Regions from separate parts of the Homo sapiens genome. Here regions 2, 3, 4, 5 and 6 are each linked to region 1. Evidence: promoter capture Hi-C in 16 types of primary human blood cells and fetal thymus (Javierre and others, 2016). All regions are on one chromosome and are shown on one strand. The core of a region is centred on a gene start or on the middle of the fragment in contact, and the rest is flanking DNA. Distances in the headings are between cores, read along the strand shown.

The links. Contacts are between HindIII fragments. The CHiCAGO score rates a contact against its expected background, and 5 or more counts as called.
Region 2: the fragment with the promoter of WDTC1 here is called in contact with the fragment with the promoter of AHDC1 in region 1 in 7 of 17 cell types (erythroblasts, non-activated CD4 T cells, fetal thymus and 4 more); the score reaches 6.0 in erythroblasts.
Region 3: the fragment with the promoter of SYTL1 here is called in contact with the fragment with the promoter of AHDC1 in region 1 in 16 of 17 cell types (endothelial precursors, naive CD4 T cells, naive B cells and 13 more); the score reaches 14.8 in endothelial precursors.
Region 4: a contact is called between a fragment that was not itself captured here and the fragment with the promoter of AHDC1 in region 1, in 7 of 17 cell types (naive B cells, M1 macrophages, M0 macrophages and 4 more). The highest score is 7.7, in naive B cells.
Region 5: a fragment that was not itself captured here is called in contact with the fragment with the promoter of AHDC1 in region 1 in 2 of 17 cell types (naive B cells and total B cells); the score reaches 5.2 in naive B cells.
Region 6: a contact is called between a fragment that was not itself captured here and the fragment with the promoter of AHDC1 in region 1, in 1 of 17 cell types (total CD4 T cells). The highest score is 5.1, in total CD4 T cells.

What each region holds. Positions count from the first base shown.
Region 1 is chr1:27,602,066-27,605,647 of GRCh38, reverse strand. It overlaps AHDC1 (AT-hook DNA binding motif containing 1), which reads left to right and starts at 1,504. Exons shown (of 9, transcript NM_001371928.1): 1 at 1,504-1,542; 2 at 1,785-1,920; 3 at 2,154-2,251. RefSeq lists silencers at 1,160-1,699, 2,250-2,329 and enhancers at 2,813-2,862, 3,536-3,582. The HindIII fragment of the contact is 3,248 bases long and covers 486-3,582 here.
Region 2 is chr1:27,232,366-27,236,075 of GRCh38, reverse strand. It overlaps WDTC1 (WD and tetratricopeptide repeats 1), which reads right to left and starts at 1,444. Exons shown (of 16, transcript NM_001276252.2): 1 at 1,125-1,444. It overlaps WDTC1-DT (WDTC1 divergent transcript), which reads left to right and starts at 1,647. Exons shown (of 3, transcript XR_947117.2): 1 at 1,647-1,814; 2 at 2,474-2,631. RefSeq lists silencers at 765-814, 975-1,024, 1,215-1,364, 1,565-1,624. The HindIII fragment of the contact is 2,806 bases long and covers 180-2,985 here.
Region 3 is chr1:27,339,591-27,343,271 of GRCh38, reverse strand. SYTL1 (synaptotagmin like 1) reads right to left here and starts at 1,250. Exons shown (of 15, transcript NM_001193308.2): 1 at 1,122-1,250. RefSeq lists enhancers at 1-615, 790-839, 1,370-1,629. The HindIII fragment of the contact is 10,600 bases long and covers 1-2,004 here.
Region 4 is chr1:27,306,246-27,309,931 of GRCh38, reverse strand. WDTC1 (WD and tetratricopeptide repeats 1) reads right to left here. Exons shown (of 16, transcript NM_001276252.2): 16 at 1,296-3,686. The coding sequence ends at 3,549. Among named protein-coding and RNA genes, the nearest start is that of TMEM222, 14 kb to the left of the region's middle. RefSeq lists enhancers at 1,100-1,624, 1,625-2,150, 2,151-2,676. The HindIII fragment of the contact is 299 bases long and covers 2,231-2,529 here.
Region 5 is chr1:27,282,893-27,286,386 of GRCh38, reverse strand. It overlaps WDTC1 (WD and tetratricopeptide repeats 1), which reads right to left. Exons shown (of 16, transcript NM_001276252.2): 5 at 2,938-3,049. Among named protein-coding and RNA genes, the nearest start is that of TMEM222, 38 kb to the left of the region's middle. RefSeq lists a silencer at 1,523-1,602. The HindIII fragment of the contact is 7,577 bases long and covers 1-3,494 here.
Region 6 is chr1:27,135,995-27,139,402 of GRCh38, reverse strand. All of the region lies in intron 1 of SLC9A1 (solute carrier family 9 member A1), which reads left to right. Among named protein-coding and RNA genes, the nearest start is that of SLC9A1, 17 kb to the left of the region's middle. RefSeq lists an enhancer at 1,082-1,893. The HindIII fragment of the contact is 1,147 bases long and covers 1,439-2,585 here.

The DNA.
Region 1 (3,582 bases), core at 255-2,754:
ACTGGACTGCCATAGAGAAGGAGCTTGGAAGGAGTGAAGGTGTGGGGAAGATAGTGACCAGGGAGTTGCGGTTGGCAAAATGTCACCAGCTGCCTTTGTCACACACTGGCCAACACCCTGCAAGGCCAAAGGAAGAGTCAGAAACAGGTAGGCCAGAGACAAAGGCACTGCTCTAGGAACTTCAGACCTGGAGCAAGATAGACAAGGCCAGCAGACACAGGGTGTGGAACATCAGACACACAGATGAGGTGGTCCAGTGAGGTGGGACCGCCGCAGGGCCAGTCAGGGCCGGCGTTGGTAGACACCTAGGACACAGGACACGACAGCCACTATGCATTATTCATCTCCGTGTCCCTTGCAAGCCCTGCATACCTCAGTTAACATTTGTTGAAGTGCCAAGAAAGGACACACAGACACAGGGAGAGAAGGTCAGTTACAGAAATGGAGGGAGTCACAACTCCTTGTCATAGCCCAGGGGTTAAGCTTGTGGGGTTTGGAGTTAGTCAGACCCTGGTTCAAATCCAGCTGGGTTCAGCCACTTGCTAACTGGAGAACCTGGACCTCAGTGCCCCCATCTCTAAAATGGAAATAACAGCACTATTTTACCGCAGCAGTTCAGCCATCTCCGGGGGCGGTAACAAGGCCCCCAAGCAGCGCACATTCCCATCTGTGGGATAGGCTAGGCAGGGGCTGGAGAACACATGTGACCTGAAGAGGAGGTAGGTGAAAGTGCTGAGCCCAGCCCCCGGCCGCGGCAGGAGGTCAGCACCGTTCAATCTGAATCCTGCTTCCTGACACAACGCAAATGCTCAGCAGAATTCGGAAAAGGGTGTGTGTGTTCTATCTGCGGATTATCCAGGACTTTTGAGCCCTCGCCGCCCTTGGACATATAGGAAAGCTGGGAGTTGCAAGGGCGAAACCGAGGTCGGAGTTTGAGAGGAGGGGTCACTGAGTGAGGAAGCAGCGCTGGCTGGGTCTCCCCCGCTCCCCCGCCCCAGCAGCCCTCCCGCCATATATACTTGAGCTTTACTCAATAAGAAACCTTTTCAGAAAAGGATAACGTCCCCAGATTGAGAGAGCCGGTCCTCTCCTCTGCCCTCTCCCCCTCCCATTTAATTGGGACGCCCCAGAAAGTCGCAGCCCCTTTGGCTAATCCCCTGGTTCCCTATTCCACTCCCATTCCACTCTCAGACCCCGCCCCTTCACTCCCACCCGCAACCTCCGCTCGATCCAGAGCCCCCCGGTGGAGACAAGGAACACAGGGACCATTCTTAACCCTTGGGGAGGATCTTCGCCCGTTGGTAAACGAGGACGCGCTCCAGCCAGACGAGCCCCAGGCGCGGGGTCCCCGGGGCTCCTGGCCGCGCCGTCGGAGCAGCCGGCGCGGCCCCGCCCTCCCCGCGCGCGGAGCGGCCGGGGCGGGGACTACAAGTCCCGGCGTGCCGCGCGCGCGCTCCCCCCTGGGGTTCCGGATGGTGAGCGGCGAAGGTAAGGCGAGCTCGCAGAGGCAGCGGCGGCGGCGGCGGAGACGGAGAGAGGCAGGCAGGCAGGGCGAGGGCGAGAGACGGAGGGAGGGAGCGAGCGAGGCGGACCAGACAGACAGACAGGCGGGCGGGCGGGCAGAGCGAGCCACCCGCCAGGCTGCGCTCAGCCCCGCTCGCAGCGGAGAGAGCAGAAGGCAGGAGGAGGGAGGGGAGGAGGGGGAGGGAGGGAGAGAGGGAATCCAGCTACCACCACCCAAAGCCAGCGTCTGCTTTCTGTCCTCATTTCCTTTTCCCACCCAGCTTGGAGAGCAGAGAAAGGCAGAGAGAGCGAGAAATAGAGACAGTCTGAGAGACAGACAGACAGCCAGAGAGAGCGGGAGGGAGGAGGGCGGAGGAGGAGGAGCAGGAGGACTACGCGGGGCGCGTTCCCTCCCAGGTTTGCTATTGGGGGGGGTGGGGGCGGGGGTGTCCAGGGCTGGGAGAGTGTGTGCGCGGCGGGAGGGCGAGGGGGGCGCAGAGAGAGCGAAGGAGTGATCGAGGTGGGGGGGCGCCGCGGGAGCGGGGGGCCGTGTCCAGCGGAGTTAGCGGCGGAGAATGTGAGCCGAGGCGCGAGCCATGCTGTCAGCGACGGCGGGCGGCTCAGGGCTCCTCCACGACTCCTCTCCTCAGCAGCCGGGCGCCCGCGTCGCTGCCACCGCCGGAAGACAGACGTCCCCCAAAACCCCTCGCCTGGCTCGGACCCACGGAGCCGGCAGCCCAGCACTCCGGTGAGTGGCGCCTCCTCCCCAGCCCCAGACCCCCGCTGGGGACCGGCCGGCCAGGCTCTTTTGTGCAGCGCACGGGGGGGGCCTGCGTCCCCCGGTCCGGTCCGCTGGACCCGGTGGCTGCGGTGCCCGCGGTGCGATCGGTCTTTGTTTCCACCGGGGCCCGCGGCTCGGCTGGGCTCGGCTCGAAGCCTGGCAGGCAGCGCCGGGAAGGGGGAGGGGGAGGTGGACGGGGAGGGGGGGCGGGGAGGGGGGGTTCTCGGGTTTCCTGGCCGCCCCGCGGCTCCCCCGGCTCGGGGGCGAGGTGCGCGCCCAGCGCTGCCGCGCGCCCCCTCCTCCTTCCCCCTCCCTCCGCCTTTGGATTTAAAACTGCAATTTGCTCTCCAGCTTGCTGAGAATGTGGGGGGGGGGGGAATGAAGGGGGGACCGTGGGAGCGGAGAACAAGGCTGGATTTTAGGATCGGCGCTGGGAAAAGGGGAGACTGCGGAGGGAGGAGCCCCTCCCCTCCAACCCCCAAATCCCTAGGATCCACTGGCTCTCGGGGAGTTGAGGGGCGGGGACCTAATGACCCGGAGGGGGTGTGGGGCGGAGGAGGGATTTGGGGGCGGCTAGGGCTGGAGGGGTTGGGCCGCGTGCCCGGTTACCTGGCGAACAAAGTCGGCTCACTTTTGCATAAATAAATAAATAATCGCCTATCAATGCGTTTCCTCTGGGGCTCTGATTGAATCGGCCCCCTCTTCCCCAGGGGGTGGGGTGCTGAGTGACAGCTGTCAGCCCCCTAGGCAGGGAGCTGGGGTGAATTGCTGAATCTCTGCTCGCTGCTTGAGGGCGCCTTCCCCTGCTGGGTCTGGGTCCCCGGGCAGAGCCAGAGGGGCAGGGGGCTGGCTCTGAGTCTAGGAAATAACCTTGTTTCCTGTTCTACAGGAAAAGGGACAGCAACCCAGAGTTTGGGGGCTGGGGATGAGGACTGATGGGAGCTTGGGGGGGTTCCCCAGCAGCCTGACCCCCCAGCCTCCTGCCAGGCGAAGGGGCCAGCTGAGGGAGGAAGGATGTGGGCCTTGCTGGCCGGAGGCGGGAGCTGGGGCTGTCCCTGAGGCGGGCAGCGGGCACAGAGCGGGAGGAGGGAGAGAAGCGGGGGCGGGAATTCTCTACCGCAGACCCTGGGGGCCAGGGCCAGATGTGGAGGGGTGGGGAGTCTCCCCTCCCTCCCAGCTTGGGGGCCCTGGGGCTGGGCTGGGAGGGGCTGAGCCTGGTGCCCTCGGTTCTGCACCAGTGCCTGACTGGCAGGGCCAGCTGAATTTGGGCCCAGGCGTCACCCTGGGAGGCAGGGCCG
Region 2 (3,710 bases), core at 195-2,694, 370 kb after region 1:
TAGTAGGGACCACTGGGCATACCGGTGTCCTAGGTGGGGATTTCGTAACGTCTTTGAGTCAGAAGCTGCCCTCAAAATAGTTTCTTCTCAAAACGGTTTCAGGCTTTGTTAGAAAGGGAAGACTTCACTGCCACTTTACCCAGATCATCTACCCCATCCTTGGAATGAATGGGGAAGCTTCAGCCACCCTACCAGGCTCCTAAAATCACCAACTTGAGAGAAAAACTATAACGTTGCTCTACCAGTACTTCAGGAGGTTAAAGAAAGTCACAGAAGAAAAGAACTCTGGGGAAAACAGTCAAATTCGGCTATTAAGACATTAGTTACAGGCCCCTGTACCTCTCCTCTAGAAACCCTGGGAGTACACCCGCAGAGGAGAGAGAGCCCAAGCCACCAAGCAAAGTCAACCAATCTGGCAAAGGGGCGTCCCACTGCGGCTTTCAGTCCAAGAAGTGGATCCTGCTGGTTCGCAGTCTCTCTTCTATCTCCTCACTTCCTATTTACCCTTTGAAGTGGGTACTGAATAGCCCGTTCCCAAGCAGAGGCCCTTTGTATACGGGGTGCTACAGTCGCCTGGTGGAAACACCTTGGCAGAGTTGTTTGGTGCCAGGATGGGCCACTGAAGGCATCTGCTGTGGACACACACACACACACACACACACACACACACACACACACACAGAAAGAGAGAGAGAAAAACAGAAAGAGAGAGAGCGAGAAGCTAAGAGGGCAGGTCAGGTCGGCGTTGCCCTCCCAGCACTTACACCTGCCCCTTCTTCCTGACTCCGGCGCCAGATCAGATGTCAAACAAAAACTCCGCAAAAAAGTCCCATGATGGAATGACTTCCACCTCTCCCTCCGCAGAGCCTCCCCGGACTCCCACAGCCTCCCCCCGCGTCCCGACCAAACCCTCCGCCCCCACCCCGCCCCCGGACCACTCTGCCCTCCGCCCCGGCGAGGCCTGGCCCCTCTCGGGACACCCGGGGCCCCGAGGCGGGTAGGCTCAGGCCCCCAGGCCGGCAGGGCTGGAGCCGGCCCAGAGCGGGCGGCCCGTTCACCGGGGCTGCGGGAGCCGGTCCCCGCCTCGGCGCCCGCGGAGGGCAGGGGGCGGCGGTGACCCGTACCTGTCAGGTCTCTTCCCCCGACCGGCAGCGGCGCAACTTCAGGAGCCCATGTCCGTCCGGGGGGGGCGGCCCCTCTCCCGGGAAGGGGGGCGCGGATCCCGGGGAGGGGGCTGGGGGGCTCGAGCAGTTCTAGCCCCTTCCCATGCTCCCCGCCCGGCGCCTGGCCGGGGCCGGACAGCGCCTCCGCCCGCCCCTGCGCACCGCCTCACACCCGCGCTCACACACACTCACACTCCCTCGCGCGCTCTCACACACGCACTCCCCTCCCTCCTCCTCCTCTGTTTATCTCCTCCAGCTGTCTGGGGACCCAGGAGAAGCCCAGCAACGCGCCTGCGCCACGCAGTCTCCGCCTCCGCCCTGCGCCTCGCAGCCGGCGGGTACGCTACGAAGACTGCGCCCGGCCGCTTCCAGAATGGCTAGCCGGGCCCCCCCACTTACCCCCCCGCGCCCGGTCAACGTCTGCTGCCGGCGGCGCCCACTAACCTGCTAGTGGGGGAGCCCCGCACCGCCGTGGCCAATGGGCTTCGCCGCTTGCGGGACCGGCAGCCAGTGGGCGGGCGGGAAAGCTGGGCTAAGCCCTGGGGCACCCTGGGAGTCGTAGTTTTTCGCCGTCGAGGAGTTCCTGCAGAGCGGGCTCACCCCGCCCGGTTGCCATTAGTTACCCGGACGCACCTCCCACCCCACCACCGGGTAAAACGCTCCTCACACCGCTTCTGGGACACCCGCCCACACGCTCGCCCACTGAACCCCAGGTCCCCTCACAGCCCCTTAAGAGCTCCTAAGACTTCCTCTCAGCCCCCGAATTCTGGGACCTCTCAGGCTAGGGCCCCGGGGGGCTCCTCAGCCCACTCCTTCCTGCTCTGGGGGGCTGCTGAAGTGGCACAGTCCTCACTGACGTCTCCTGGGCCTTAAGGAAGAGAATGAAAGAGAATCGGGCCTACGCTGAGTAGCCTGGAGAGGAGTCAGCCACACACACTCTGGGTGCCCTCGGGGTGATGGGAGCGACTAGGTCCATCTGACCCTAGCGGAGTCACTGCTGCTCCCACCTCTGAGGAAGAGACGCAGTTCCAGCCTTGTGGAGTCCCGGGTCTGATGGAGGAGAGACCCTCCTCTTTATTAAGGAAGTTCCCAAGGTGACAAGGGTGGCACTAAGCCTATCTTCTTAAGGCAGAGACCAGGCCCCACCCGTGAAACCTCAAGTCAGAAAGGGAAGACGTGTCACCTTCTGACAAAGGAAACTTGTCACCCATAGGGTGCCATTTGTCAGATACTAACAATAATTCACTTTTATTCGCACTGGATTGGGTACAGTCTCTTAGCTAGGTACTATTGCTGTCTGTGTTTTGCAGAAAAGGAAAGCTGAAGCAGAAAGGCTAAAAGCAACTTGCCCCCGGGGTCCTGATAAGTTGGCAAATTGGGAATTAGACCCAGATCTGCCTGACACCAGAGTCTGAGCCTTTTAACACTGCCTGTCTTTCCTGTGAAAACCAGACAGCACCCGCTCTCAGTAAGGACTGAATATATGTATTTGGCATTTATAGTGTTTATCACTCCATGTGTCGCTTGTTTTTTTTTTTTTTTTTTTTTTTTTTTTCCAATTCTGCTCACATCATGAGTACGAATTTGTCTGTGAATACCTGAATACTCCCAGAGACAAAGGTAGTATTCTAATTGCTGGTGATTTCTCCGCAAGGGAGATTTCTCCCCATTTAGAGGAGTAAGAACCTATCCTTGTGAAACCGCTCACAAAGCCTTTTATGCCTTTCTCCTAAAAATATTGTGGGTCATTCCCCCTGAACTCTCCACCACAGCTGTTCTACTGAATATAAAAAATCATAGACTTTGGGACTAGAAGAAAGCTTTGAGATCATCTATCTGCAGCTCCCCAGGTTCAGGCTGCAACCTTGGTTAGGGTCATTGGGTTAATTAAACTGAATAATATCTAACATTTATTGAATACTTACCATGGGAGATAAGTGCTACTAGTGAATTAAGAAATACTCCCGGGCTGGGCGCGGTGGCTCACGCCTGTAATCCCAGCACTTTGGGAGGCAGAGGCGGGCGGATCACGAGATCAGGAGATAGAGACCACCTGGCTAACACGGTGAAACCCCATCTCTACTAAAAATACAAAAAAATTAGCCGGGCGTGATGGTGGGCGCCTGTAGAACCAGCTACTCGGGAGGCTGAGGCAGGAGAATGGCGTGAACCCGGGAGGCGCAGCTTGCAGTGAGCCGAGATCGCGTCACTGCACTCCAGCCTGGGCGACAGAGCGAGACTCCGTCTCAAAAAAAAAAAAAAAAAAAAAAGTAAAAGAAAAAGAAACACTCCCGGCCGGGCGCGGTGGCTCACGCCTGTAATACCAGCACTTTGGGAGGCCAAGGGCGGGTGGATCGCCTGAGGTCGGGAGTTCAAGACCAGCCTGGCCAGCATGGTGAAACCCCGTCTCTACTAAAAATACAAAAATTAGCCGGGCGTGGTGGCGCGTGCCTGTAATCCCAGCTACTCAGGAGGCTGAGGCAGGAGAATCACTTGAATCCTAGAGGCGAAGGTTGCAGTGAGCCGAGGTCGTGCCACTGCACTCCA
Region 3 (3,681 bases), core at 1-2,500, 260 kb after region 1:
ACAGTGACTCCGGAAAGAAAGCATTTGCCCAGCGCTGAGGGGCATGTAGACGTGGCAAGGGGCCCATGACTTGGTCAGGGCTGTGTCCTGAGCCCACTGGGCGGCCTCTCCTCTCTTCCCCGCCCCTTCCATTGCCACGGCTCCAGGTGGGGCTGAGACCGGCGGAGGCAGCTTGGCGGGCAGGTCCTGGCTTGTGTCCGCCGCCTGCTATGCTCTGTCCCCTCCCAGCTGAGTCAGTGGCCGAGCCCCAGCGATCCCTCTTGACACCCTCAGGAGCAGAAGGCCTCAGCACGGCTGCACGGTGTGCATTCACTCTGTGGATACCTGTGTGCTCCACAACAGCAGTTTCCCTGGACTTCTGTGGCCAACGTGTGAGCCCACGTTCGGCCTCCCCTGTGGATTGGGGTGTGAGCCCACGTTCGGCCTCCCCTGTGGATTGGGGTGTGAGCCCACGTCCCTCTCTGTGCCCTGTTGTGTGGCTGTGTGGGTCCGAGTCTGGTGGGCATGTCTGCGTTGCGTGAGTCTGTGAGCTGTGTAGTTGCTGTGTGTCTTTGTGTCCTGTTGCAGTGTGATGCTGCATGGTGACTATATTGTCTGTGTGGTGTGTTCAGTGACTTTCTAGGTGACAGCGCCGTGTGGGGTGTGTACAGTATGCATTGTGCATTTCCTCCTGTGCTGTATGTGTGACTGGGCTGTGTGCTGTGGGGTGTCCCCTGGTGCCTTGGGGGCCACCAGGTGTGTGTGTCTGAGTGTGGATGGAGGCCGGGGGGACGTTCGGCAGAACTGAGCCTATTTCTGTCCTTCAGGCCTGCCTGAGCTGGGCCATGGGCATCAGCCCAGCGTCCTCAGCAGTGCCCCCTCCCTGAAGTCCCCTCTCCTACCAACCAGAGGCAGAATCTCCTACCAGAGTTAGGTAGGAGTTTGGTCTTCTCTGCTGTTTTGACACGGTGGGACAGACCCATTGGTCAAGAGGAGGGTCTGTCCATCTGTCCAGCTGTTCCAGTTCCAGACATGTGCCCACCTCCCCCAACCCCAAGGTGCTGGAGGGTGCTCAGGATACCAGGTGGCAGTGCCTGCGTCTCTGGACCCTGGCAGGGGACCCTGGCACCGACACGTGTTACCTGTAGGGGTCCAGTATGGGAGGACACCTTCGCAGGTGGCTCCAGCTCCCCTGGCAGCCGAGTTTCAGGGACCGGGAGAAGAGCCGTGAGGGAAGAAGGCTGACTCAACAGGCAGCCCAGCCAGCAGCTGCCCCACACGGAGGAGGAGGAAACACCTCGGCAGGGCCTGATGCAAAACCGGGCCTGGACTCCCAGCGCCCGGGGGTGCGCCCCCGCAGCCGACTGGAGAGGCCCAGCTTGGCCCCAGCTCCACTGAGCAGGCCCTCTAGAACGGGTAGCAGCCCCACCTTGCCCACAACGGGGCTGATAGGAACTCGCTTTGAAAGCAAGTTAGAAACCTTTCTTTTCCAGCCCCAAGGGGAATGGCAGGATGGCAGACTTTGCAGTTAGACCACCCTGTGCAGAGTCCCTGCTCTGCCAGTGGGTGTGTGATGTGACCTTAAGCAGGTCTCTTCCATTTCTTCTGATGCAAACTGTGGGTAGCAGAGTGCAAGGAGCCTATACTAAGGGAAGTGAAAGTGCCCGGTGCGAGCTGGCATAGTCGGGGTGAGGTGTCCCCACTCCAGCATAGCCTAATGCCCACGGCCATCTCAGCAGCTGCTGCCCTCTATATCCACATGCACTTCTGGGACATGCTGGCAGAGCAGCCCTCTCTGTCCCCTCTGCTGTCCTGAGCCCCATCTGTTTGAGGAGGCCTGAACTCTTCTAGTGCCAAGGTGAGGGTCCCACACCCTCTGTCTATGTGGAGCCCCCCTGAACTCACCCCATTCTACACCTAGATTCTGCCCACCCTGAGATTAGAAGGTTTGGGCCCTAGATTACATTGGCTTCAGGACCATGAACCTCCTGGGTTGTCTTGGGCACAAGAGGCCACACCAAAGCTTTCTGACTCCCCCCAAGTCCACTTCACTTCCCATGGCCTGCCCTGGCCCAACCCCCTCCCCTGAACCTAGGGCCATGGATTAAAGATTAGTGGGCTCCTCATAGACCCCTGGGAGAGGCAGGACAAGGGGTGGATTCTAAACAAAACCAGTCTGGGCACAGTGACTCATGCCTGTAATCCCAGTACTTTAAGAGGTCGAGGTGGGCGGATCACTCTAGGACAGGAGTTTGAGACCAGTCTGGCTAATATAGTGAAACCCCGTCTCTACTCAAAATACAAAAATTAACCGGGCATGGTGGCAGGTGCTTGCAGTCCCAGTTACTCGGGAGGCCGAGGCAGGAGAATCGCTTGAACCCAGGAGGCGGAGGTTGCAGTGAGCCGAGATCGCACCACTGCACTCCAGCCTGGGCAACACAGCGAGACTCCGTCTCAGAAAAGCAAACAAGGCTGGGCGTGGTAGCTTACACCTGTAATCCCAGCACTTTGGGAGGCCGAGACGGGTGGATCACGAGGTCAGGAGATCAAGACCATCCTGGCTAACACGGTGAAAACCCATCTCTACTAAAAATACAAAAAAAATTAGCTGGGCGTGGTGGCGGCTGCCTGTAGTCCCAGCTATTTCCCGAGTAGCTGAGGCAGGAGAATGGCATGAACCTGGGAGGTGGAGCTTGCAGTGAGCCGAGATCGCACCACTGCACTCCAGCCTGGGCGACAGAGCGAGACTCCGTCACAAAAAAAAAAAGAAAAGAAAAGAAAAGAAAACTAAACACCCACTCTTCCTTCCTGTAATCAGAACCGACTCCCACCACCACTGAGAGACAGAGGACCCTCCTCCACCTCAGAACCACAGTGGAGGCTTCCCTACTTATTTTTTGCAAATTAATCTTATTTTTCTCATCTGTTAAATGGGGGTAATCTCTCCTTAGAGGGTTTTCACTAAAATTCAGTGAGATCCTTGCAGACTTTTTTTTTTCTTTTTTTTAGATGGAGTCTTGCTCTGTCGCCCAGGCTGGCTTGGCTCACTGCAGCCTCCGCCTCCTGGGTTCAAGTGATTCTCATGCCTCAGCCTCCCGAGTAGCTGGCACTACAGGCGCCCGCCACCACGCCTGGCTAATTTTTGTATTTTGAGTAGAGATGGGGTTTCACCATGTTGGACAGGCTGGGCTCGAACTCCTGGTCTCATGTGATCTGCCTGCCTCAGCCTCCCAAAGTGCTAGGACTACAGGCGTGAGCCACCTTGCCCAGACCCCAGTACTCTTGATTAATGCATTTATGCACCCACACATGCAATACCCATGGAGCAGCTGCTGTGGGACCATTACTGTGATGCTGCCTCCTTCATTAAGGCCCTCAAAATGGAAGGAGAGTGGCCAAGAACATCCACACCCCTTCCTGCCATCCTGGTCCTGGCGCCCCCAAGGATGTTTCTCTGCCCTCCTCTCACCTCCTTAGCAGCTCTTCCTCCTGGAAGGCATGAAACTTCATTATCTGGTCTTCGGGTTTCTAAATTTCCCTTCCTTTCTCTGCTCTCCTGTCCTTCCTATAGCTGTGACTCCCTGACGCTGATACTTCCAGCCATCTCTCCTGCTGTGTCTCAACCTGCATTCCTCTGGCCTCTTCCCCACTTGAAACCTATTTCCAAGTTTCCACCTCTGTAACCAGCCCCCATCATCCTGG
Region 4 (3,686 bases), core at 1,131-3,630, 300 kb after region 1:
TGGCCGGGCGCAGTGGCTCATGCCTGTAATCCCAGCACTTTGGGAGGCCGAGGCGGGTGGACCACAAGGTCAGGAGAGCGAGACCATCTTGGCTAACGTGGTGAAACCCCATCTCTACTAAAAACATAAAAAATAAGCCAGGTCTGGTGGCAGCTGCCTGTAGTCCCAGCTACTCAGGAGGCTGAGGCAGGAGAATGGCATGAACTCAGAAGGTGGAGCTTGCGGTGAGCCGAAATCGCACCACTGCACTCCAGCCTGGGCAACAGAGCAAGACTCCGCCTCAAAAAAAAAAAAAAAAAAAAAAAAGAAGCTGGGTCTTTAGTGGTTGCTGTGATAAAAAGCAAATGAAAATCAATGTGGGACAGGAAATGAAGGCAGCAGTGTTTGCTTTGATTAGAAAATTTAACAAGTTGTTCAGTGCCCAATGGGCAGCATAGATCCCATTAGTAATTGCAGTTGTTTAAGAATGAAGGCTGGGCGCGGTGGCTCACACCTGTAATCCCAGCACTTTGGGAGGTTGAGGCGGGCAGATCACCTGAGGTCAGGAGTTTGAGACCAGCCTGGCCAAGGTGGTGAAACCCCATCTCTGCTAAAAATACAAAAAATTAGCTGGGTGTGGTGGCGGGCACCTGTAATCCCAGCTACTTGGGAGGCTGAGGCAGGAGAATCGCTTGAACCCAGGAGGCGGAGGTTGCAGTGAGCCGCAATTGCACAATTGCACTCCAGCCTGGGCGACAAAAACGAAACTGTCTCAAAAAAAAAATAAAAAATAAAAAATAAATAAAAATGCAAAAAAAAAAAAATAGCTGGGCATGGTGGCACATGCCTGTAATCCCAGCTACTTGGGAGGCTGAGGTAGGAGAATCACTTGAACCCGGGAGGCGGTGGTTGCAGTGAGCTGAGATCATGCCACTGCACTCCAGCCTGGGCAACAGAGCAAGACTCCGTCTCAAAAAAAAAAAAAAAAAAAAAGAATGAAATAAATATTGTTTCTTCCAATTCAGGTGTATTATTTTTTAAATGGCAACTAACTTGTTAGGACATAAATACTTTTTAAGTGATTTGGACTTAACTACTTAATAAATTGAACTGTTATTTCTTTTGGCTTAGAGGCTCCATGAAAAAATTACTGAGATGGTAATGGTGCTGTGAGCTAAGAAAGTTCAGGAACCTATAGTCTAAGAGATTATCTAATCCAGGGCACTTCAAAAACTTGCATATGTGAAATCAATTTAGTGGGTTATAGCCATATTTTTTTCCCTAATAAAACAGAAGGGTAAGCAGAGTACACTGCATGTAGCAAGGGTAAATATTATTGTGTAAAACTTTTGTTCATTTTTTTTATATATATATACACACACACATATCTACAAGTAATCATGTGTATATTGGGTCACAATGTAAAATGGTTTGAAAAACCACTAAGATTCCAAGTCCCTTATTTTACTGATGAGAAAACAGCCAGAGAGTGAAAGCTGATGATTACAAATCACAGCCATGAGAGCTGGGCTCTGCACTCAGCCCTGCTGGGCTGGGTGGCCGCTGCTCACGGTGACCCTTCAAGGCAGGCCTCATTCTGTCCAGTAGAGGTGTGGTTACTAAGTCATAGAGCTACAGAGGTGAGGGACCAGGTGCCCTCACTTTGGTTCCAAGACCCATCTGCACCCCACAAATGCCACCAGCCACACCTAGAACAAAATGGTTTTAATCAATTGCGTCACCCTCACTCTCCTGGGAGCGGAGCAACAAAAAGGCTCGGCTCCTGCCCCCAGAGGACAGTAAGGCTTATGTGTCTCTCCACACTGCAGGGCCCAGGCTGGGCAGGCAGGGGGTGGGAAGCAGGACAGGGGGCAGGGAGGGAGGGTGGGAGGCAGGGAGGAAATGGCAGGTGGCTGGAACACAAGAAAGCAAAGGGGACCCAGCTGGTCCTTGGGCCCCAGGGCCCAGCCCCAATACTCCTGCTCTCCCTTCTCCCTGGCTAGAGAAAGGTCACGGAGAAGAGACAGGGGAGCAGGTCCCAGCAGCAGGAGAAGCAGCAGCAGCTGTTTCCTTCACCAATAAATATACTTCATTACCAAGCTAGAAGAGAGGGGTGGGAAGAGGGACTGGGGTGGGAAGGAAGGGGGAGAAGCTGCCACCTGTGTTGCTGGGATTAAAGCAATGAGATGGTGCCAGACCCCCCACCACTATCCTCACCCTCCACTTGTCTTCTTAAAACTGTGAAAAAGCTTTTAACATGGCCCTCCTGTCTCCAGGGCTGCTCTGAAGCCTGACTGAGAGGAGGCACCTGGCAGAGACAGGGGCTGAGGGAGGGAGCGAGGGAGTGGAGGGAGAGGAGAAGGGAGGCTGCTTTTCCCCAGGGGCTGCAGCTGGAGGGCTGGAGCCAAGTAAGCACTGAAGGGGAAGCAGGGAGGGAGAGAGGGGGAAGGATGAACCAACTACCTGGAGCAGCTGGAGCTAAGAGCCGGGGGCAGAGGGGAGGAGAGGCCTGGTGAGTGGTGGGTTGATCGCTGCATCCAGTGTAAAGCTTGGGGCTGCTGGGGAGGGAGGGGCCGAGTAAGGGACTTTCCCATCTGAGTGGCTCAGGAGACCCACCCCTCTCCCCTCAGAGCAGCAGGGGACAGAGAAAAGCCATCACTTCTTTGGTCTTTGTGGCGGCTCAGCATGTGGGATGGGAAGGAGGGCAGAAAGGGCAGAGAAGGGCCCTTAGCAGGAAGCGCCACCTCAGCAGAGTAGGCCTGGCTGGGAGCTCTGGCAGAAAGGTCACAGTGAGGCTGAGGAGCGCCCAAGAGGAGAATGGCCGTAGTGCAGAAGTGCTGGCATGGATGGGTGGGGTAAGGTGCAGTGCCCCACCCTCTGCCAGGGCCCTTGGGAAAGGCAGAGCCTCCAGAGGTGGCCAGTGAGAGTAGGTGCAGGGCCAGAGCTAGTAGCCAGGAGAGGAGCGAGGGTGCTCCACAGCGACCTCAGCAGGTGGCCTGGTCTTGCCCACTCCAGGGCTCCCATCCTTCCTTTGGGCTCCGCTCTAACACTGGTGGCTCTGGAGGGAGGGTGGGACCCATCCTTTTTCAAAACCTTTCCTGAAGACCACAGGGGAGCTAGCCTTGCAGGCTAGGGAGCAAGAGTGGCAACAGGCCAAGGCGAGCCCTTACCAATTGGGAATCCCACTCCTCCTGCTGCTGCCAGCTAAAGGGCAGGACAGTCCCTGAAGACAGTTCAGCTTGTTCCTCCCCACCTGAGGCAGAAGGGGTTTTGAGGCAGGCCAGAGCCCTCCAGGGACATGAAAGCAGGAGATGGGGGGGGGCATATGGAGGGGTGTCCCCTCCTGCTCTTTTTTTCAGGGCTGGGGATAGTCAGGGGACAATCAGCCCAGAGTCCGAAAGCCAGCAAGTTGTAGCAACCTCCACCCCTAACGCCAAACTAACAAACAAAACAGGGGAAATGAAAAAAAAGGGTGGTGGGGAAGACAAACCAAAACAGAATCCCCTGACCTCCTGCCCAGGGCAGAGGGTCCAGCCAGTAGCAGGGGCTGGGGACCAGGGCTGGAGGGTCTAGCTGGGCCGGCACTGCACCTGGCCCTCAGAGCTGTCCTCATCATCAGAGGCCCCGGCACCCCCACTGCTCAGGCCCGTGATCCGGTAGCCCATGTTGAGCAGCATCACCTCCAACGGGTCTGCATTCATGCGCCG
Region 5 (3,494 bases), core at 846-3,345, 320 kb after region 1:
AAATGTTGGACAATAGGGAAGGGCTGAGCATCAAGAGGATACATCTCTATGCAGTATTTATTAAAAAAAAAAACAAAAAAAACCGGCCAGGTGCCGTGGCTCACACCTGTAATCCCAACACTTTGGGGGGCCGAGGTAGGCGGATTACCTGAGGTCAGGAGTTTGAGACCACCCTGGCCAACATGGTGAAACCCCGTCTTTACTACAAAAAAAATTAGCCGGATGTGGTGGTGTGCACCTGTAATCCCAGCTGCTCGGAAGGTTGAAGCAGGAGAATCACTTGAAGCCGGGAGGTGGAGGTTGCAGTGAGCTGAGATGGCATCACTGCACTCCAGCATGGGTGACAGAGCAAACAAGACTCCATCTCAAAAAAAAAAAAAAAAAAAAAAACCACCATCCTGATAAAGGCAAGAACAAAATACTCCAGATGACATCTGATAAGAAAAAAACAGCTGCAACCATAGCTTCAAATAATGAAAAAAGAAAGTATGCAGTTCTGGGCTGGGCGCTGTGGCTCGCACCTGTAATCCCAGCACTTTGGGAGGCGGAGGCAGGTGGATCACCTGAGGTCGGGAATTCAAGATCAGCCTTACCAACATGGAGAAACCCTGTCTCTACTAAAAATACAAAAAATTAGCCGGGTGTGGTGGTGTATGCCTGTAGTCCCAGCTACTCGGGAGGCTGAGGCAGCGGTGAGCCGAGATCTTGCCACTGTACTCCAGCCTGGGCAACAAGAGCGAGACTCTGTCTCAAAAAAAAAAAAAGAAAAGAAACAAGAAAGAAAGTATGTAGTTCTATCACATAACTTTGAGGATAAAAAATATTTGGGAGTGGTGTTGAATTCTCGTGTGAGTTCAAAAAATTGAAATATCTTTTTTTTAAAATTGAAAAGTTCCTCCCTACCCACAACAAGGCTGAGTGGTAGTGTTGGGGGAGGGGCAATGTCCTACACTGAAACAGCTGATGTCCCACTTGACTTTAAATGTTCACAAAGAACAACAATTCACTCTTTCCACATAGGCTTCTCTAAGGGCCATTAGAACAAGGTCTAGCCAGGCACTGTGGCTCATGCCTGTAATCCCAACACTTTGGGAGGCTTAGGTGGGTGGATAACCTGAGGTCAGGAGTTCGAAACTGGCCTGGCCAACATGGTGAAACCCTATCTCTACTAAAAATACAAAAATCTGCCAGGTGTGGTGGTGCACACCTGTAATCCCAGCTACTTAGGAGGCTGAGGCACAAGAATCGCTTGAACCCAGAGGCGGAGGTTGCAGTGAGCCAAGATTGTGCCAACTGCACTCCAGCCTGGGCGACATTCAGAGTAAGACTCACCCTCAAAAAAAAAAAAAAAAAAAAAAGACCAAGGTCTAGATGAAATAGACATGATTTAATTATTTTAGGGACAACCAGTAGTCTTTAATCCTGTCTAGAGACGGCATACACTCAATGCACAGCAGAAATAAACTGGGGAGCCCTTGTCATGATCTTGTGGCTGCTGCCACACGCATCACACACCATAGTCACCACCAGGGGGAGCGCATGAGTTAAATACATATACATCTGCAGTGTTTCCACTACCTAAAGAAAGAAGAATCCTTTTCAGGTTGTTTTTTTTTTTTTAAATAGAAGAGGAGGCTGACAGTCTGCATGTAAGTGCCGTTCCCAAGGTCTTACCGTTAGGGAGTATCAAGACCATTATGAAATTCTGGTGTTAGAAATCAATGTCTTGTGCTCTGATGCTAAACTAATGGCTTAGGTCCCCTTCCCCAGGCCTGACTGTGCAGACTAAAATTGGACCTAAACTCTTTGCAGGGGAAGAAAGCAGTTTCCGTTAGTCATATAAGAGGTAAATCATCATTGTTCTGTCTCTAAAGGCGAGAATCATAGCTTGAGAAGAAAAAAGGGTTTAGGAAAACAAGTAGGTTTGGAGCTATCATCTTGTTCAGGTATCTTGTAATTCCTCTTGATATTAATTACGAAAATATTTCTTAGAATAGTGAGGGTTTCCGAAGGACAACTTCATTCTCACATCTATCCATTATAGAATCTCAGAGCTGGAAAGGCCCTTCCTTGCAGGCCATTTCTTCCAACTTTAAATCTTGGAGATAAAGCACCTGGCGAGTGGACAAGTGCAGGGATAGGACATTTACTCATCTCCTCCAGGGGCCCATTCTACATTTTTCAAAGAGCTCTAAGCATTAGACAGTTCTTTCTTTCCTCAGGCCCACATTTAATTCTGTGGACTTACAGCCACTAGTCCTAGGTCTGTTTTCCACAACAAAAAAACATGTCTCATGTCATTTCCAGGGCTTCAACAGAGCTTCAAAGGTCTGAAGACACTTGTAAGTCCCCTTCTCACCTCTCCTCCGCTCAACTCCCCTCCTCCAACAAATCAAAATATTCATTTCCTATGAAGGGGTAGAACAGATAAAAAGCACTGGGCACAGACTTTATTTTTATCAATTATCTCATTGAACTGTCACATCAACCTTGTAGACTGTTATTTCCTTTTAAAAAAATTAATTTGTTTACAAATCTGGGAGATTTTCCTTCGCTGCTTCCTTTTTTACAGATGAGCAAACAGGCTCAGACAGGTCAGGTGATTTGCCCAGGTCACACAATGCCCAAGAAGCAGATAAGGGAGTCAAACCCAGGTATGCCTGCTCTCTAAGTTCACGTTCAGAACCATACCCCCACCACTACCATTCACATAAAGATAAATTCATCTAGAATTGGCCGCTTAGCTCTAAAAGAGGAAGAAGAACATGGAAGAGAAATGAGGTTTCAGGAATCACCAACAGATACTTAGATCATAAGGTTGTCTGTGACCCTAGACGGTATATGGGACACACACATACCAACATGGCGTGGCCACAGCCCAGTCACTCTTGTGCTTGATCTGTGGCTTGTGCTTGCTCTGTGGCTTGTCCTGCTCACCTTGACAGAGAAGATATTTGCGGTGTGTCCCGTGTGCATGGAGAGCAGCTTCTTGTGGTGCAGCGGGTCCCACACAATCGTGTGCTGGTCATCGGAACCAGAGGCCAGCAAGCTGAAAGCAGAGTGAGGGATTGTGATCTCTCCTCAAATTCCTAGGCTCCCTTTCCCCATCCCATGTTCTCAGTTTACAAGGAGTTAGGTTACAGAATTTGAAGAACAGTAAATGTCACAGAATTTAAGGTTGCCTTGTAAACAGCTGATTCTCTTCTATTTTGTCCTGAGAAATTTCCATTATTCTTTTTTTTTTTTTTGAAATGGAGTCTCGCTCTGTCCCCCAGGCTGGAAGTGCAGTGGCGCGATCTCGGCTCACTGCAAGCTCCGCCTCCCAGGTTCACGCCATTCTCCTGCCTCAGCCTCCTGAGTAGCTGGGACTACAGGCGCCCGCCACCACACCCGGCTAATTTTTTGTTTTTTTGTAGAGACGGGGTTTCACTGTGTTAGGCAGGATGGTCTCAATCTCCTGACCTCGTGATCCACCCGCCTCGGCCTCCCAAAGT
Region 6 (3,408 bases), core at 763-3,262, 470 kb after region 1:
AGGAAAGTGAAACAGGGAATAATTAAGTGCTCGAGGATTGCTGTGCTGTTGCCTCAAAGAACAGGAGACCTTTAGGAAGGGGAGAAATGTGGCTGGAATGAACATGGAGCAGAGATCTTTGTGCAGACACCTTCACCAGACCCTTCTAAGAGGGAGGGAAGGTGACCAATCAGGCAATGGCCGTGACACCGGTTAAGGCTCTTTGCAGGCTCTGAGTACTAGGTATGGGCAGGCACCTGTTGGGGAGCCCAGCCAGCTGCAGGAAAAGTCTGGGTGAGGAGTCAGTGAGAAATAAGACAGTAGGTGGGCGGGGCTGGATGAAGCATCTGGAACTCCAGAGGGGTGTAGACTTGGCCAGGGCTCCTCAGACTGGTGGCAAACACAACCACACCTGTCAAAGGCTTGCCTCTTCACTCCATCTTCTCCAACCCGGGTGATTCCCGGGCCTCCTGAATGGTCTTGCGGCTCCACTGCTGTCTGCCTGCAGGCAGCTCTCCCCAGAGCAGCCGCAGGGAGCTTTGAGACCTGTAAACCAGAGCATGGTGTTTCCCCTGCTGAAAACCTTTCAAATGCTTCCTGATGAACTTGGGAGAAAATGCAAGGAAAGTGTGGCCCACCCCTTTCTCCACTTCATGCCCCACTACCCTTTCCCTGTTCCAGTCGCACCGGCCTTCCTGTGTCCCTAACGCACATCTGCCTTGCCAGGCCTGTTCCTCCATACAGCTGTGGCATTTGCTCGATCCCCAGCCTGGAGCACTGCCCATAGACTGCCTCGCGCCGGTGCTCTCCTTCAGGCCCTAGATCAAACGTCATCTCTTCAGAGAGGCCTCCCTGACTGTCCAGTCTAACGGGCAGCACACGCCCCACCAGCTGCCTCTACCCCCATGTCAGACACTATTCTGGATCTGAGGACACAGCCAGGAACAAGACAGAAGAGGCTCCTGATGTCAGGGGGCTCCCATGCCAGCATGGAGCATTGGATGTGGACAAAGCAGTGTCAGGTAGTGGTAAGTGTCCTGAAGAAGGCAGACATGAGGGAGAGGTGGGGCTGCTGGATGGCCAGCAAGGGTTCTCTAAGGAGCTGGTGTCTGAGCTGAGACCCAAAGGACAAGAAGAGCTCATCTTCCAAAGACCAGGGCCCCTGAGGGGGGTGTGCTTGAGGAACCTGAAGTGCGGGGGAAGAGGGGAAGCATGGTGTGAGAATGGAGAAGAGGGCAGGGGCCAGATCATGCCAGGCCCGTGGGCCTGGGGCTAGGATTCATGGTGCTGTGTGGCACCATCAAAGGCTCTTGAGTAGCATGACATGGTCTGACCTGGGGAGGGATGTGCGGACAGCCTGGGAGTGCGATAGAGTCGGCTCAGGCCCTGGGCTGGCCCCACTCAGTGTCCTGCCTGCCAGCAGCTCAAGCTGGGTCTATGAGGGCAACAGAGTAAAGCTTCCCGACAGGCACCACTGGCCAAGCCAGCAGTGGGATGGAAGCTCCAGCCTAGGAGAGCTGCTAGCAGGGAGGGGCGAGCAGGACGCTGGAGCAGAGTGGGCGTGGAGTCAGGGGCACATTGGGGAGGGAGGGGCTGAGTGGGCACCAGGCTCTGCTGGACTCCTGCTGGCCACCCCTCCCTTGCTGAGCCTCAGCGCCTGCAGGCAAACAGTCACCAGACCTGTCATGTGGGAGGCGTGGCATTGCTGAACACCAGGGTTGGACATGCGTGTTCCCTGCTGAACCCTATGGTCGTGGCCTGGGGAGTTGTCAGGTCAGGAAAGGGCAGACCTAGAATCAGAACCAGACTTTAGCACTGGGAGGGATCCTAGAGACTGCAGAAGTCCAGGAGGAGAAGATAAGGGGTTAGGGAATCAAAAGACCAGGACTGAAACCCCCCTCCCCCACTTGCAACTTTGTGGTCCCCATGTGCAAAGGTGTGGAGGTTAAATGAGAATGCTGAGGCGAGCACCTAGCAGTAAGGGCTTCTAAATGTCTGACATGATGACAGAGCCCGGCCCATCCCCCTCAGCTCACAGAGGAAGCAGAGGCCAGGGCGGAAGTGACTTGCTTAAGGGCCACAGAGCTGCATTGAGCTCAGCTCCCCGACCTCTAGTCCAGGCTCTCCTGTGATGCTATAAGTGGTCCTTCTTCCCACATCGTTCCCTCCGCAGAGGTGAGGCGGCCTCCTGCCTGTCCCACTTTCTTTTCAGCCTGCCTCTGAGCACCTACCATGCAGCAGACACAGTTGCGTGGTTGGTGGTTCCCACCCTGGAAGCGCTGGCACTGACACTTGTGTGTGGGAGACAGACATGTAAACAACTAAAACACAAGGCAGGCTGAAGTGCCGCAGGGACACAGCACGTTGCAGGTGGGCCCTGGGGGCAGATGGGGCTCCATCTGGCACTACCACTTACAATGGAATGGCAACGAGGCCCAAACCTAAGTTAGAACAGATCAAGAGGGCCTTGGATTCAATGCAGAGAAGTGTGGGCTCTTTCCTGAAGATGGGGGAACTGCAGAGGTTCTGGAGGAGCCATGACCATGACTGGCCTGTGTTTAGGATGAGGGCTCTCCTGGCTGATGGAGAAGGGACTAGATGAAGCTTTTCCCCCAGTGTTCTTGGCTCTGGGAATTTTCCGCCTCCTCCTTCCATGGATAATTATCCTTCCTAAGAAACTGATCAGATGGGAAACTGCAGGAAATTGTTTGGGACGGGGATTGTGTAGGAGTTGAGGGGAGAGTGGAGAGGATGTAGCCGGAGAGGGGTATCCGTGCCAAGCAGCAGGTGGTGGCTCCCTTCAGAGGGGAGGGAGGGAAGCCTGGGCAGGGCTGGGAATTTAGAGCAGGAAGATGCAGGTGCTTCTGGGGGAGCTGAGTCCCTCAAAACTCCTGGTCTTATCCTCGGTTGAGGAGAGGGGTTAGGGTGACTGGCAGGGTCTGACTTTTCTGGGTCAACAAGAGCTGGGGAAAGTGTGAGGCAGTGTGGCCCAGTGGGCGGGGCCAAGCCCAGGCCCAGCTCTGCTTGGAAATTCCCTTATTGTGGGCCAGGGCTAGTTAGGAGTGGTGAGTGTGCACTGGGCATCCTCCCTTGGCACAGAGCAGTCCTCCTCCTGCCCCCTGCTCCCAGCAGACCCAGAGCTTGAGTCGTGGACCTGGCTGCTGTCCCCTTGCTAGTTAAGCAGCAGTTCTCCATGAGCTGAGGCTTCTGGAGAGCCAGGCTTCCCTTAGTGACTGAACCACAGGGATGTGTGCTTAGCGCTGAGGATAAGGGGGTCCCCACATCTGAAGCCAGGAGCGAGACTGCCTCTAGAGGGGCCCAGAAGGCTCTGCAGGTGGAGATTCAAGGCATCCTTCTGGGCAGTCAGGGGCCAATAGAGACTGCAGAGTCCAACAGACCTGTCTGAATCCCAGCTCTACTACCTGCCTG